Linked DNA regions of Homo sapiens: region 1 is linked to region 2. Evidence: promoter capture Hi-C in 16 types of primary human blood cells and fetal thymus (Javierre and others, 2016). All regions are on one chromosome and are shown on one strand. The core of a region is centred on a gene start or on the middle of the fragment in contact, and the rest is flanking DNA. Distances in the headings are between cores, read along the strand shown.

Region 1 (2,700 bases), core at 42-2,541, 410 kb after region 2:
GCCAGGATGGTCTCGATCTCCTGACCTCGTGATCCACATGCTTCGGCCTCCCAAAGTGCTGGGATTACAGACGTGAGCCACCACGCCCAGCCCACCCTCTTTTCTTGTTAAGGATAGGGTGTGACAAGAGGGTCCTGGCTCCTTCTTACATACATGTCCCATCCACAGGTGGGCTCTTAAGTGCCTGCTGGAGTGAGGGTAGGGGTTAGGGATGCGGCTGTTCTTTCCCAAAGACTACTCAGGGGCTGGTTAGTGCAGAGCTATCGCAGCCTGGCGACAGCCCTCAGTCACAGGCAAGCTTAGGGGAACCTGTGGTGCTTGAAAGACAAAAGGCTTCTTGCCGGACTGACTTCAGGAAACGGGGTAGCCCTAAAGCAGTCATCCCCACCCCATTACAAAGAGCTTCTCTCTTTCCCACGCTGATCCTTCTCCCCCGAAGAAGCTCCGTCCAAGTAAATTTCTTACCTTTTTTTTTTTTTTTTTTTTGAGACAAGGTCTGGCTCTGTCACTCAGGTCGCCCAGGCTGGAGTGCAGTGGTGCAATCTCGGTTCACTGCAACCTCCACCTCCCGGGTTCAAGCGATTCTCCTGCCTCAGCCTCCCGAGTAGCTGGGACTACAGGCCGTGCCACCACACCCGGCTAATTTTTGTATTTTTAGTAGAGATGGGGTTTCACCATGTTGGCCAGGCTGGTCTTGAACTCTTGACCTCAGGTGATCCGCCCACCTCGGGCTCCCAAAGTGCTGGGATTACAGGCGTGAGACACCGCGCCCAGCCCGTCCAAGTCAATTTCTAGAGCTAGAACTTCCTCATGCTCTAAAGACAGGACCCCAACTCCTCAGAGCCAGGATTCCCAACCTTTCAGATCTGGAGCTCCCCATCATGCCTTAGAGTTCTGTCCCCACGCTCCAATCCTTCAGATTTGGATCTCCCCTTCACACACACCCTCGCCTTGCCCCAAAGTCAGCATCCCCCAGCGCTGAGATATGAAGACCACCCCGTCAAAGGGGCACACGCCCAGCCCTCAGAACCGGAGTCCCCCACATCCTCAGAGCCAGAACACTTCATCCCTCAAGACAGAGCGTTATTCTAACTCCTCAGAGCCAGCCCCCCAAATCCTTCCCGGCTGGGGGCCCCTCGCTCTCTCCCATGCCCCAGAGCCAGGTCTCGAACCACTTAGCCCCAATCCTTGGCCACAGCGGCCCCCATTCGCCGCTTTGGTGCTTTTGGCGCCCCCGCCAGAGCGGGCTCCGTACCATGGTCGCGGCTCCAGCAGCGGGCGGGCGGGCTTGTGACCCGGCCAATAACGGTTCCCGGGGTCGCGGCGGCGCGCGCGCGGGGGGCGGGGCAGTGGGCGGGGCCTGGCGTGCGCCGGGTGGTCTCGCGGGCGGTGGCAGGTGAGCGGCGGGCGGGGATGGCGGAGCAATGGGAGCTGGACGAGGAAGGCATTCGCCGCCTGGGGGCGCTGACGCTGGAGCAGCCGGGTAGGGTCTGGCCGGGAGGGTGTGGACTGGGAACGTAGGGTCAGAAGCTGTGGAAAGAAAACTGAAGTGGAAGGCGGGGAACCTGAGATAGAGGCGAGGGAACCACAGAGAAGCGGTACCTGAGGCTGGGGGGCGGGGGGATAACTTGAGGCAGAAGGTTAGAGGGAGGTGGAGGTGGAGGAACTGAAGTAACGGGAGGGTGTGGGGCAGAGCCCGAGGAATTGAGAGAGAAGAGGGGAGTGTGAAGTAGGGAAGGAGAAACAAGGTTAACAGGGGACCCTGCCGCAGGTGACAGAACTGCGGGGGGCGGTGGCTGACCGCTGTAATCCCAGCACTTTGGGAGGCGGAGGCGGGTGGATCACCTGAGCGTGGCCAACATGGTGAAACCCCGTCTCTACTAAAATACAAAAATTAGCCCGGCGTGGTGGTTCAAGTCTATAATCCCAGCTACTCGGGAGGCTGAGGCAGGAGAATCGCTTGAACCCGGGAGGCGGAGGTTGCAGTTAGCCGAGATCGCACCACTGCACTGCAGCCTGGGCGACAGAGCGAGACTCCATCTCAAAAATAATAATAATAAATAAAATAAATAAATAATAAAATGTCTATTAGACATCCAAGTGTAAGGTACCTAGTAGGCAGTTGGATATATGGGTCTGGACCTCAGAGGAGAGGTCAGGGTTAGAGATGAAAATTTTGGAGACATTAGCAATAGGTGGTATTTAAAGCTACGGGAGTGGATGAACTCAGCTAAGGAGAGAATGTCGATGGAGAAGTGAAAGAAAGCTTAAGACTCAACCTTGGAATATTTCAGTGTTTAGAGGTTGTATAGAGGAAGAATGTGGTATCTTGGAATTTGAGAAGGGGTAGTGTATCGAGCAAGCAATGGCCAACTGTGCCAAATGCTATTGACAGGCTGAGCAACTTAAATGCAGAGTGTCTGTTAGATTTAGCAACATGGAACTTACTGGTGACCTTGACAGAGGGAGTTTTGGGAGGGTGGGGAGGAGGGAAACCAGATTGGAGTGGGATGAAAAAGGGAAATGATATTTGAGGGGAAGAGACAGTGAAAGTAAGAACTTTTGCTGAAAATTTTAGCTGTAAAAGAGACTGCAGAAATAGATGGTAGCTGAAGCGTATGATGTGCAGTCAAGAACAGAACAGGAAGGATATACTAGAGCATGTCGGTAGTCTAATGATTAATTTGGTAGAGGGGGGAA
Region 2 (2,700 bases), core at 129-2,628:
TCTCAATGCAGAGCCAGCCCTCTGAGTCATTGACTAGGGAGAACCTGCCGCCCAAAGAAGGAGGTGAGGAGGTACTGGGACTACATATAGGGTTTTGCTCAGAATCCCCCAGGGCTGTGTGACTTGCTTAAATTCCACACCCTCTCTGTGACTCAGGGGCCACAGCAAAGCCTGGGGGGCCCAGTCTCTCTCTCCAGCTTCAGGATTTGTTGTGGTGGTGGTGGTGGGTGTGGGATGAAGAACAGATCATGTGGGTAAGGGAGAAACTCTTAGAGCCTGGGAGGCCCATTTCAACTTTGCTCACTCCAGGTCACCCTGCAAGGGAATCAGAGTCTATGAACAACCTTGTCTGTCTGCAATCTGTTGGGGGGCATTGGAGGAGGGCCTGGTCCTCCCTCCAGGTGCTGAGGCATAATCTGAGCTCTCATGGGGTCCAAAACACCCCTCTCCATGCCCCACCCAGTCCATCCAGCCCCGATCCCTGCCAGGAGTCACAACCTTGGCATTTGCCATAGTTTGAGAAATTTTGCAGGCCACAGATAATGTGAGTCCCCTCTGAGGCCCTGGGGTCATCCCCAGGGAGCAGGGGCAATCCAGTCCAGGTAAGGGGCTGGGATTTTAGCTCACCTGAGGGTTCGGCTGATGGGGTCGGAGGGCTGGATGGTCAGCAGGAAAGAGCCGGCTGGGGCACTGATGGGGACACTGGCCTCGTAGCTCTCCTGGTCCAACTTGGGGGGTGGCATCACTCTCTCCACTAGCACAGTCACCGTGGCGGTGGCTCCAGGGCCTGGGCCTGGCCCCACCAGCTTCGCCACACTCTGCACCACCACCACCACCTCATGACTTGGAGCTGCCTCATAACTGAGGTTCTGGAACCAGGAGGCCCAGGTCACTGTGCGGGCCTGGGCAAGGCACATGTGCATGCATGCGTGCATGTGTGGGCCCCTTTCCCAGCTACCCAGGCCCTCACCTTGCAGAGTCTGAGTCTAACATGCCCAGAGTCTGGCTCCCAATCCAGGCCAAAAGTCCCTTCTGTGTCTCCCCTCTCAATGGCAAAATCCATGAGGCGGAAGGCGGGCTCGAGGTCAGCATCAATGGCTGTTAGCATGGCCACCAGAGTCCCGGGCTCCACATCCTCAGGGAGGCTTATAGGCCCAATCTGGAGGAGGAGGAGGGATGGTGAGCCCCCCACCAGCATCCTTCCCAAGGCCTTCTCCCCTGCGTCTGCTTACCTGGGAAGTGATGAACTCAGGGGCGTGATCATTGATATCTGTGACTGCGACTTCGACTTCACACGTGCTGCTGAAGCCTAGGGCAGAGGTGGACGTGTTGGTGAGGTCAGGGTAGGAACAGAGGGGACAGGGGGCCTGGGTCACCAATCAGGGCACTTACCACCCTCTGCGCCTGCCAGGTCCATGGCCAGCACCAGAAGCAGGATGTTCTGGCCTGCTCGGAGTGGGAGCACCCCCAGCGTCACACTGCCTGAAGTGGGGTCCACCTGGAAGGCTCTCCCCTCTACCCCATCCTCAGGCTCAGGGCTCAGGAGCTGATACACAACGTGGGAATTGGGGGAGCCGGGGGCATCTGCATCCTCTGCTGACAGTCTAGTCACTTCAGTACCTGCCAAGACAGCACCCGCCTGGATAGGACCACAGCCCAGCCTGGAGACCTTACCCCACCCACTCCTTATTTTGTGCCAAACTAAACTGAATTTGAGCTCGTGTGTGTGTGTGTGTGTGTGTGTGTGTGTGTTATGGAGGGACATTGACATGGGGGCCTGAGGCTGGGTCCTTATCCCAGAGAAGAGCAAGACCAGGTGGTTAATAGAGACTTCGTCCCTCTCCCATCCTGTAGCTCACCTGGTGGACTGAGCTCAGGGATGCTGACTGTGGGGTCACGGGGAGGGCAGATAGGCACGTTGTCATTCTCATCCATCACCAGCACGTGCAGCTCCAGAGGGGCCGCATAGTCCTCGCCATGGGAATTCTGAGCCCGCACCTGGAGCAGGTACTGCGGTGGGCAGTAGGGGGCTTCAGGTCAGGACCAAGGGCAGCTCCAGCCTTGCCTGGCTCTGAGTTTCCTTCCGGTGGGCCAGCTCCAGCTCTTCGGGGCTCTTTCCCACTGCCTCAGCCTCTGTTGTAGTTGTGACACCCCCAAAAGCCAACTGGACACTGACCAAGCACCCCCAGCCTGCATCCCTGGCTCCCCCTTCATATCACCTCAGCCTGGGCTTCTCTGTCCAGCTCTCTGGTCACGTAGAGGTTTCCCTCTGCATTCACTTCAAAGGGTCCCGGGGGATGGCTCTCCAGGTGATAGTGCACATCACCCCCACTCCAGTGTACCTGGGGGGGACACCCCGGGCCAAGGGGCAGGAACAATCCATGTCAGCCTTTGCGCCCCATCTGATTTCTCGTTGAGGAGCCTGAGCCCAACTGTGTGACCCAGGCAAGGTGCTGCCCTCCCTGGGCCTGGAGTCCAGGTGGGATCCTTCTGTTCAGGGCACATGTTGTTAGTGGCCTTGCCCTGATCCAAGCCTGGACCCTGCCCAAAGTGCTTGAGTGACCATGTTACTTTATTTTCTGCCCTCTCAGCCTGGGCCTGACCCCAGGGCATTCCTAGAAGAGGCCTGAGACATTCCTGGCCCGGGGTGACAATCCCCATGGCAGCAAGAGATGGCAGCTGTTCTCTCTGAGGAAGCCC

The links. Contacts are between HindIII fragments. The CHiCAGO score rates a contact against its expected background, and 5 or more counts as called.
Region 1: a contact is called between the fragment with the promoter of KCTD19 here and a fragment that was not itself captured in region 2, in 1 of 17 cell types (M1 macrophages). The highest score is 5.0, in M1 macrophages.

What each region holds. Positions count from the first base shown.
Region 1 is chr16:67,325,450-67,328,149 of GRCh38, forward strand. KCTD19 (potassium channel tetramerization domain containing 19) reads right to left here and starts at 1,292. Exons shown (of 16, transcript NM_001100915.3): 1 at 1,256-1,292. The coding sequence starts at 1,258. LRRC36 (leucine rich repeat containing 36) reads left to right here and starts at 1,366. Exons shown (of 14, transcript NM_018296.6): 1 at 1,366-1,483. The coding sequence starts at 1,414. RefSeq lists a silencer at 1,259-1,408. The HindIII fragment of the contact is 1,968 bases long and covers 297-2,264 here.
Region 2 is chr16:66,911,272-66,913,971 of GRCh38, forward strand. It overlaps CDH16 (cadherin 16), which reads right to left. Exons shown (of 18, transcript NM_004062.4): 8 at 2,220-2,342; 9 at 1,860-2,010; 10 at 1,393-1,620; 11 at 1,233-1,309; 12 at 971-1,159; 13 at 628-869; 14 at 1-44. Among named protein-coding and RNA genes, the nearest start is that of CDH16, 6.3 kb to the right of the region's middle. RefSeq lists an enhancer at 675-1,176. The HindIII fragment of the contact is 7,999 bases long and covers 1-2,700 here.